Regions from separate parts of the Homo sapiens genome. Here regions 1 and 2 are each linked to region 3. Evidence: promoter capture Hi-C in 16 types of primary human blood cells and fetal thymus (Javierre and others, 2016). All regions are on one chromosome and are shown on one strand. Each heading gives the region's core, a stretch centred on a gene start or on the middle of the fragment in contact. The rest is flanking DNA. Distances are from core to core; before and after follow the strand shown. Region 1 overlaps SPAG9 (sperm associated antigen 9). Region 2 holds the start of LRRC59 (leucine rich repeat containing 59). Region 3 holds the start of ANKRD40 (ankyrin repeat domain 40).

Region 1 (3,643 bases), core at 890-3,389, 260 kb after region 3:
CTGCGTTAAAATTACATTACACCCTGCCTCTTATTATTGAATAATTTGGCAAATAGTATGCCTTAGTATCATGTGTGGGCTGTTACTCAGGGATCCCACATTTCTCCTAAGCCCTCTTGTCTATTCTCATATCTCACCTGAACACGTGAGCCAAGCTGACCAGCATGAGGGTTCCCCACTGCTCACCTTTAGCTGGTGCCAAATGGCAACAGTCCTGACCCTCAGGAATGACATGTGTGATGGGGAAGATTATTGGACTTGCAAATAAAAACCAAGTTCAGATCCCCAGGAACGGTAAAAACAAAACAAAACACACTAGACCTCATACATGTTCATATACATATTTATATATATCTCATGTACAAAGTTACATTCTGAACCCCAGGGATTCCATAATAGAAATAAATACTGAAATAACTACATTGCTAAATGAGCTCTTTGCTCATAGAAATGAAGCTCAGCCTCTAAGAGACAGCAAGTGGGACATTCTAGAACCCATTTTTCAGATTATAGAGGCAAGTAAAATTCTGATAGAATGTCTTGGACAAAAAACGAATTTGGAACATAAAATGGTTAAGATATATTCAAATAGAGAAATGTATGACAAAATTAATAAAACTTAATCTTTTAAGAGAAAAGACAGACATTTAGTGTTACAGAATAGCATAACCCTGTTAGAAAAGCATTTATGATTTCCACATTTAATTTTCTCTTCTACTCTTCCCATGTTACAAAGTGGGACCAAATGAGTCCCTTTCTGAACATGATCAATTAAGAAGAGCCCTAAATCTGGTTGAGTCCTTTGGTAACGGTCATAATACTCACAAGGAAATAAATATTCAGTTCCATGGCATTTGCAAGACACATGTTCTTTAGGACAGTTAATATTATGACACATCTGTTTTATTTTGTTACTAAGGCAGCCTATGTTAAAGGGTCTCGTCTCAAATGTAGGAAGACCTTTACAAGAAATGAACAATACAGTAACTGAAAGAATTGATTTTAACCTTTTCTATGCAAACACAATCTGAAAAGTTATGTGCTGCATATTGTGCTCAAAATGTTTTATACTCTCCACAAGCTGCAATTAAGAGATTCATTCCTATTTTTAAAATTTAGATCCACATGGGTTAGAGAAAAATACTCTCAAAAGTGAGTTCCTAGAGAATATTATCCCTTTGCCTCACAGAGATTTTAACCTGCATTTAAGAGTAAGTGTTAGGTTGAGGCATATGATATTGTCGCTTTTGCAGATCAGCAATGGTTGAACACTGGCAATTTCATATGGTTCAACCTTGCACATGACTCAAGTGTAAAAAAAGGAGAAACCTTCAAGTATTCCTTATTTCTTCCAATAGGGGTACACTTTTTTTGTACAGTGAGATCAACCCAAAGTACGCAAGCCTCTTCTCTCCCTTGATGTGGTAGCTACAGGCAGTTACATTCCTTTGCTGCTTGTGAGAAGCTTACATTTTGGCATTTTCTTCCAAAAATTACCACGTTGACCAAAGTAAACATTACAAGAATATGAACTTGTTATTGGGGGAAAGGGGAAGTGAAGCAATCTGTAGAAAATATTTAACTGAAATTACAAACATAAGGACAAGCCTTTAAAGCAAATTATACAGGCATTTTTGTCCTCTCTCTGGTCCCTGCAGTTAATTAACAGGGCCACAGATAATCTGACATCTTTAGATAAAACAACTACACACCTATATTACTTAAGTTAAAGCCAGTAAGTTCAAAAAAAGCAATTACAACCATTTGACATGTTTGTATTTTTCATCTCTAACTCCTGATTTCCTAAATTACATTCAGTCATACAAACATGGCTGAACAACAGCAAATGGGATCTGACTCTGGGATGTTTACTTCTTGGGATTAAAATTCCCAAACACTTTGGTGTCTCTTTCTTGTGAATCTATACAACATTTCCAATAAATGTTTAATAATGATTTTTTAAAAGATATTGCCAAAAATGGCTCAGATTTAAGATGAAATAAAAACATAGCAAACAAGCTATGGAAAAGTAGCCTACATTTTGGTGCCCTGCAAAAAAGTGACTAAGTAGCTCAAGCAAAAAATTATTCTTTTAATACAGCTTTTACCAAAACAGTTTTAATACATGAGTGGCTACAATTTTATTGTGTACACAATGTGCTTATAGTCACATGTGGCCCAATGGATCCAAATGCCTCCTCTGGCTCATGAAATCCCATGTACTTCACAATCTAGCCTAATCGTGTATATGCATAAAAGCCACTGGTATACTTTTTACAGACATCTTTGTATAATAGTCCAGAAAAAAAAAATCAGTGGTACTTAAGAATGTTTAGACAATTTGACATCTACGTTTGCTTTCTTTTCTTTTCAGTAGTCCTTCTGATGATTGGGGGCCTTTATCCCATAGGTTTATACTGTTAAAACAGTACATAAAATTACATTTAGCTTTGCTTCGGACCGGCGCGGGGGCTCACGCCTGTAATTCAAGCACTTCGGGAGGCCAAGGCGGGTAGATCATCTGAGGTCAGGAGTTTGAGACCAGCCTGGCCAATGTGGTGAAACCCTGTCTCTACTAAAAATACAAAAATTAGCTGGGCAGGGTGGCACACACCTGTAATCCCAGCTACTTGGGAGGCTGAGGCAGGAGAACTACTTGAACCTGAGAGGTGGAGGTTGCAGTGAGCTGAGATCGCACCACTGCATTCCAGCCTGGGCAACAGAGCCAGACTCCGTCTCAAAAAAAAAAAAAAAAATCATATTTAGCTTTGCCTAGAGTAATAGATAAAAAAGGGTAAATCACACATTTTCAAGAAGCTTGAGAGGGAAAAAATTGCAGCATCGTGGTTTTAAAAAACTTATTAAGCAAGAAAATCAGTGAAATCCAGACTTTAATCTATTTTTTGCTTGTTTGTCTGTTTTGAGACAGGGTCTTGCTCCGTCACCCAGGCTGGAGTGCAGTGGTGCTATCAAGGCTCACTGCAACCTCCACCTCCTGGGCCCAGGTCATCCTCCCACCTCAGCCTCCCAAGTAGCTGGGACTACAGGCATGTGCCACCACACCCGGTTAATTTATTTTGTTTTTTTTTTTTGGTAGAGACAGGGTTTCGCCATGTTGCCCAGGCTGGTCTTGAACTCCTGGGCTCAAGCAATCCATCTGCCTCAGCCTCCTAAAGTGTTGGGATTACAGGCGTGAGCCACCATGCCCAACCTATTTTTTTTTTTTAATGGGCATTGTGAATGAAAATATGTAATGTCAACCTTTACTTTATGGTATCTTAGGTTTGTCTTCTTCCCCTTCATAGTTTTCCCCTTTGAGGATAACCCTTCAAGCTCAAAAGGGCACAAAAGCTAAAACGTTATTCACGTACAAAATACCAAGTATATAGCTGTTCTGCAGTTTGATACAGAACAAAAGAAAATAACTTTTCTAATTAAATCCCTCATTCTGTACTTAGGCCAGACTCCATCCCCACTACAGTTTTACTTGTATTAACAGGTTAAGAGCAATCTAGGAACATTTGGCAAACAAGTACATTTTTTACATGGAAAAAACTCAATCAACATCACCATTCTCTGGTACAAGAAATACAAAACACATTTCCTTTAAAAAATCCTCCCAGTGCTGAAGTATCTTCTAAGC
Region 2 (3,407 bases), core at 563-3,062, 310 kb before region 3:
CGAGACCAGCCTGACCAACACGGAGAAACCCTGTCTCTACTAAAAATAGAAAATTAGCCAGGCATGGTGGCACACGCTTGTAATCCCAGCTACTCGGGAGGCTGAGGCAGGAGAATCGCTTGAACCCGGGAGGCAGAGGTTTCAGTGAGCCGAGATCACTCCTGGGCAACAACAGCAAAACTCCATCATCCAAAAAAAAAAAAGGCCCTCACAGCCCATCTCTATTTTCCCATGGTGTCCAGGCTGGACAAGCTCAGCAAAACTTTCTCCCTAAGGTTAATGCTGGACTGTTCAGATGCCTGGAGTATATGGTTTCAGAGAGCAGTCCTAGGGCAGGGTGAAATAAGGCTGGCCATCTATCTTCCTGGGGTAGAAAAGGAGGCATATATTCAGTTAAGGATCCTCTGGCAACCTGCACTTTCTGTCACAAAGTCGTAAAAGTGAAGTTTGACCACCTAAAAAAGTTTTAAATACTACAGCGGGAAAAACACAACAACAGCTACAAGTATCAGTATTTGCTCCTTCCAAGCATTTTCCATTACAATGGTATTTAACCTCCCAATAAGCGTATGAGATGGAAACTATTATCACCATTGTATAGATGAGGAGATCTAGGCATAAAGGCTAACTAGCTTGCCAAGGGCACTCGGCTATTAAGCAATGGAGCTGGGAGGAGCTAGGAACCCGGTTCTAACCACTGTAATACCCGTCCACGGTGGAAGAAAGACTGGGCCCAGCGCCCAAGGCAAATGTAATTTATCAACGGCAGAAAGCAAAGTGTGGGTCACCCAAAGTGAGTCTAGTAGGGCGTTGGCGCGGGTGGGAGGGGGAACGGAGTGGGAAAAGGAGGGATGTGGGAACTAGCTCCACGCTGACAAAACTAGATGCCTGCTATCTCTCTGGAGCTGTAAGCTTCAGTTTACAGGGGAAAGGTTGGGGGAGAGAGGGGCGAAAGGGACTCCCGCCAGTTTCAGCGGAATTCAGATGACAGTTTACCAGCCAAGCTGGGGGGAGACTTTACTTTCTTCGAGTTAGGCTGCCTCAGGGCTCGGGCAGCCAGCTGGAATTGCCAGCTTCCTAGAAGAGCCAGGTTCTGGGCCACACCCAGGTCTACCAGGAGGCCTACTCCCCTGGAACAAGTCACTCATTCATTCTCGAATACATCCAGTAACTGCTCCGTGTGCTCCTACTCAGAGTCGGGCACGGAGGTGGGCGCTGTGAAAGCCCCGCAAAGGTGACAGATTCGCTTCTTAGCCTGTAAAAAGCCTAGGGCCAGAGAAGCAGATCTTCCCTATGTTCTGGAACTGCGCCAAAGTGACACGTGTACATCCCGGGAAGAACCTTGGGCTGGACGCGGCCTCCTAGGGGACTTAGTCCCACCACCCCGCTTCTTTTTAAAGAAAAGGAAACTGATGCTTTTAGAGAAGAGGAAAGTAAGTGGCCCACGTAGGGGCCAGCGCCCGGCGAAGGTGGGCGCCTGGGCCTCGCGGGACGATACTGACCAGCTCCTTCACCGGGACCTCATTCAGGTCGCTGAGGCTCAGGTCCAGTTCGTTGCCGTCCAGCTTGTCGCGGAGGTTCCCGCCCTTGCTACCGGCCTTGGTCATGGTAACGCCGGCTGAGCGGGCCCCGGCTCCGGGGTTCCGGCGGGTGAAAGGAGCTGAAATGTCGCTTGTCAGTTCAGCGGCCCCCCACCCAAACGACGACGCCTGAGCCCTCCGTCGCCGCCGATGCGAGACCGCCTCCGCCCGCTGGCCGCACTCCGAGCCTCGCGCCTAGCTCCCACCGGTGCCGCGACGACGACCACTTCCGTGTCCACGTCACCTTCCGCGACCACTGAGATGGGCTGGGCCAGAGCGGCCCGAGCGTGTGCGGGCACGCCCCCTGGTGCCCAGGGTGATGCACTGCACGTCGCCGCCGCCGGAGGGGTGGGGTTGGAGGCTGCGAGCTCGGTTCACGTTCACCCGTGGCCCGCGGGCATTATTGCTGGCAGTGCCACGAGGCGAAAGGGCACGGACTGGGCGCCAGAAGACTGGGTTGACATCCAATACTGACCTCATCAGATCACCCCAATCCCCCTGATTAGGAGCAGAAGCTGGGTGTCCTCTAAAACTGCTCCCTGTCCTCTACTTAACCCCCGAATAACCATCATGGGGAAAACTCTTCTTCCTGAATTTCTCCTCTCTCCTCCCCACTCACTGCCTCAGTGCTTGTCTCTGTCCTTCCATCCACTTTCACCCAGCTCCCCGGTGATCTTTCTAAAAATCTGGCCAAGTCTCTCCCCTACGTAAAACCCTTCAAACTTGCAGCTACCTCTAGGATACGGACCACTTTCCTTTGGAAGCTGGGTCCTGCCTGCTTTCGCAGCTTCCTCACACGCTCCAGTCCCTGCCTGGCCTAGATGCTGTGTAGATTTCCAGGAGGTGGCTCCCACGTCTGGCCCTCCCCAGCGATGGCCCTCCCTCCCCCCCACTCACCTCTGTCTAGCTAATTCCTTAGTCCTTCAGGAAATCTCCCCTGAACACCGTGAATGCCAGACTGAGTTAGCGCCCCCCCCAACCAACTTAGGTCCCTGTTTGCTACTTTATCATCAGAGACAGTAGAGCTTGATGGCCAAGTGGGACCTCTGGCACTAATACCTATCCACTGGGTATTCATCCTGGCTCTGCCACTTGCTACTTATAAAACCGTAGACAATCACCAGGCTTCAGTCTTATCTATGAATCAATCTATGAGACATGTAGCTAACAGAGGTTGGGGAGAACTGAAGGAGTAAAACACACCAAGAGCTTACAGCAGTCACTGGCACTTAGTAAGTACCCAATAAATATTAGCTACAATTCATGATCCACCTTGTATTATACTCATCTTTATGTGTCTGTCCTTCATTCTGGACTGTGAGGACAGGGATTTTTGTCTTAATCATCTTCGTATGCCCAGAGTTGGCATACCCTGATGCAGGGTAGCTACTCATTCAGATGTCTGTTGAATAAATGAATAGATGGATGGATGAATGAATGAATGAATGAAGGAAGGAAGCACTTTACCCACTCCAAACCTCAGTTTACTCATTTTGAAATAGGGATATTAAAGCTTATCTCAGAGGGGCCGAGCAGGATAGCTCACACCTGTAATCCCAATACTTGGGAGGCCAAGATGAGAGGATTATTTGAGGCTAGGAGTTCAAAACCAGTCTGGGCAACATAGCAAGACCCCATCTCTAAAAAAATAAAAAATAAAAAATCTTGTCTCAGAGGGAAACTATGAACACCAAATAAAGTAAGTGCAATTGTTACGGGGGGTGGGTGGCAGGGGTCCTTGTTCTTAGAACTCCCAAGATGGTGGCGGGCCACTTCCAAGATGGCGGCAAGCCTCTTGTTCTCTGACCTGGGTTTCTTGGCCTCACG
Region 3 (3,313 bases), core at 78-2,577:
CATTCTGTATTTGAAATTGTAATAAGAAAACTGGCCAGGAACGGTAGGCTCACATCTGTAATCCCAGCACTTTTGGAGGCTGAGGCGGGTGGATCACTTGAGGCCAGGAGTTTGAGACCAACCTGGCCCCATCTCTACCAAAAATACCAAAAAAAAAAAAAAAAAAAATTAGCCGGGTGTGGGGGCGCGTGCCTGTATTCCCAGCTATTTGGGAGGCTGTGGCAGGAGGATCACCTGAGCCGGGGAGGTAGAAGTTGCAGTGAGCCGAGACTATGCCACTGCACTCCACCCTGGGCGACAGGGCAAGACCCTGTCTCAAAAAAAAAAAAAAAAAAAAAAAAAAAAAGAAAGAAAATAATCGATAGGATAAACAAATGAGTTTTCCCTCAAACAGGCAACTACAGGCAGCAGCAGCAAATCGGTTGCAGTGAAACAACAGAGAAGCAGAATGGTGATGCAAATGTGTTTTTTTTTCCTGGTCTTGGCTAAGGAAATCGTGCTAGTTTATAAAATTCATATTTGCTCAGTTGCTTATGCTTTTAGCTCTGCAAGATGCGTTCTCCAGAAGCACCTACGGCAAATTAACTCAACACTCGAATTGGGGTGAGCTCCAACGCATAGTCGCTGAGAATCACTGCCTCCAGCACCGCTCTGACCAAGTGAGCCGGGAGCGCGGGGGAAGGGGGTAGGGCACCAGAGTCCCAGTGGGCGCTGCCCCGAGTGGACCACGTGGGCCGGGATTTGGGCAGGACGCGCTCCCGACCGCACGAGGCATGGGGGCCAGGGCTGGCCTCAAGAGAGCACAATCTCGGAGGCCCGAGGTGGCAGGCCTCGCCGTAGCCAGGCGTCCCGCGCTGGGCCCAGGTCGCGACTGACTGCCCCACGCCTTCCGACCGGCTGCCCTGACCCTAGGCCTCCCCCGCTCCCCACTTACCAGCCGTTGACCTCATTTTGGGAGTTCACATCCACCCCGCTCTCCACCAGTTTCTGCACCTCCCGAATGTCCCCTAAGGCCGCGGCCTCCCGCAGCCTCTCCTGCTGCTCCTTCTGCTCTAGGAGGGCGTTCATCTTCCCACAGCCCCAGGCCCCCGCCCAGGCCCGCCTGCCCCGCCCCGCCCGGGGCCTGTCAGCGCCGCCGCCGTCGCCGCGGCCCGCTCCCGGCCATGGGGAGGGAGCGCGGAACTCGCCCGCCCTGCTCGCGCCGCTGCCCGCGCCCGCCCCGGGACTTCCGCTCCCTCCCGCGGGCCGCCCCTGCTGCTCCCGGCCCGCAGGCCCAGGCCTCCTCCCGGGCCGCGCCTCCCGAAGGCCGGCTCCGGGGGACCCTGTTCAGTGTGACAACGCTGACCCAGATATTTTCCGTTCCGACCCGGGGCTCCGGCGCCCGGGCTGGCTGTTTATGTAACTACTGCACAATATTATATGCCATGATTCATTGACTATTTTTAGACTTCCCCACCCCGCAGTTTCAAGGGAGGAGGACAAGACACATGAAAAGAGAAAAAAGCATAGCTGAGGGCCAGAAAAGCCTTATCCTCTGGTGCAGGCTGTTTACCAGGCATCCAAAATAATTGGTGGGTTCTTTTTATTGGGATTTGGGGTTTTTTTGTTATTTTCCCCCAGTTTGGTTGGCTCCTTTTCCTTATCTGAGCCAATTCGTGCCCAGCAGGATGGGGAAATGGGCTGAAAACGATCCTACTATAATACGCCCATTATTACAGAGATAGATTAGACTCTTCTTCTTTTTGACAGTGCTTGGGGACAATTCAGTTAGAATATTTATTTCAATTGTTGTTGTTTTACATCTCATTTTAGACAGGATTTCTTCTAACCTGGCTTTCAGGAAAAATATTTATATTGTGCTCACAGTTTATGAACTGTAATTACTGCTTACAGATTGTAATTAGTTACTCTTCATGAAGGCCATATAAGGAGAAAAGAAAGGAAAAACACCAAAGAGGCTTTGGAGGTGTCCTGGTCCTGATTCCAAGTGCTCTGGGAAGAGCTGTGGTGTACATGTAAACAGCATTTTGCTTCACTTCTTGCCCGATCTATCTAATGAGGCTCAGAGCCTCAGTTGGCACTGTTTTATACCCAGTGGGAGAAAAAGGAAATATTGTTTTGTTGAGCCCAGGTGCCCTGAAGAGATCCTCCGATGTGGCACAGGATGGAACTTTACAGATGGGGTCAAGATTAAGGAAATAGCCCTGGGGAGGAAGGGAGGAAGGCCTGAACAAGGAGAGATGAAATAGGAAGGGATAAATTTAGGCATGGAGTTTTCATTTCCGTCTCTTGGGGCTGCTGGGATCTGCACAGCAAGCATTTTTCTTGCTACAGTTTAAGAAAAACCAATGTCTGTTTGTTTAGTATGATACAGTAATTCACACAGTACACAGTGCACACCAGGTGGTGCTGAATATAAACTGACTACACACTTAAATTGACCCCCATGGCAAATTGTAACCCTGCTTGAGCTTACATTTTCATTTGTTCCCCCAATTTAAATTTTAATTCTCACATCCAGCATGATACTCTATCTGAAACTGATGTGTATGGCACTGGATTTGAGTCCTTCAACACAATTTCAGTGACATGGGAGTAGGTAGTGGCTTGTTGTTTTTGTTTGCTTGTTTTTGAGACAGAGTCTCACTCTGTTGCCCAGGCTGGTGTTCGGTGGGGCGATCTCTGAGCTCCTTGCAACCTCTAAGTCCAGGTTCAGGCAATTCTCCTGCCTCAGCCTCCCGAGCAGCTGGGATTACAGGCCTGTGCCACCATGCTCGGCTAATTTTTGTATTTTTAGTAGACATGGGGTTTCACCATGTTGGCCAGTCTGGTCTCCAGCTCCTGACCTCATGTGATCTGCCAGCCTCAGCCTCCCAAAGTGCTGGAATTACAAGCATGAGCCACCGCGCCTGGCCTGTTTTTGTTTTTTTGTTGTTGTTGTTTTTTGTTTTTAATGCAGTTAAAAAAAATTGTTCGTGACTGCACCCCAAAGTCTATGAGTTCTTTTTTTTTTTTTTTTTTTTTTGAGATGGAGGAGTTTCGCTCTCATTGCCCAGGCTGGAGTGCAACAGCGCGATCTCGGCTCACCACAATCTCCACCTCCCAGGTTCAAGCGATTCTCCTGCCTCAGCCTCCTGAGTAGCTGGGATTACAGGCATGTTCCACCATGCCTGGCTAATTTTTTGTATTTTTAGTAGAGACGGAGTTTCTCCATGTTGCTCAGGCTGGTCTCAAACTCCCGACCTCAGGTGATCCGCCCGCCTCAGCTTCCCAAAGTGCTGGAATTACAGGCATGAGCCACCGCGCCCGGCCC

Evidence for each region. Contacts are between HindIII fragments. The CHiCAGO score rates a contact against its expected background, and 5 or more counts as called.
Region 1: a fragment that was not itself captured here is called in contact with the fragment with the promoter of ANKRD40 in region 3 in 1 of 17 cell types (M2 macrophages); the score reaches 6.9 in M2 macrophages.
Region 2: the fragment with the promoter of LRRC59 here is called in contact with the fragment with the promoter of ANKRD40 in region 3 in 1 of 17 cell types (M0 macrophages); the score reaches 5.1 in M0 macrophages.

Annotation. Positions count from the first base shown.
Region 1 is chr17:50,961,849-50,965,491 of GRCh38, forward strand. SPAG9 (sperm associated antigen 9) reads right to left here. Exons shown (of 30, transcript NM_001130528.3): 30 at 326-3,643. Among named protein-coding and RNA genes, the nearest start is that of TOB1-AS1, 97 kb to the left of the region's middle. The HindIII fragment of the contact is 1,352 bases long and covers 1,464-2,815 here.
Region 2 is chr17:50,395,711-50,399,117 of GRCh38, forward strand. It overlaps LRRC59 (leucine rich repeat containing 59), which reads right to left and starts at 1,813. Exons shown (of 7, transcript NM_018509.4): 1 at 1,503-1,813. The coding sequence starts at 1,607. LRRC59-AS1 (LRRC59 antisense RNA 1) reads left to right here. Exons shown (of 2, transcript NR_199069.1): 2 at 1,506-2,847. RefSeq lists a silencer at 1,790-1,859. The HindIII fragment of the contact is 2,181 bases long and covers 911-3,091 here.
Region 3 is chr17:50,706,587-50,709,899 of GRCh38, forward strand. ANKRD40 (ankyrin repeat domain 40) reads right to left here and starts at 1,328. Exons shown (of 5, transcript NM_052855.4): 1 at 935-1,328. The coding sequence starts at 1,068. RefSeq lists silencers at 664-933, 1,064-1,273. The HindIII fragment of the contact is 9,335 bases long and covers 1-3,313 here.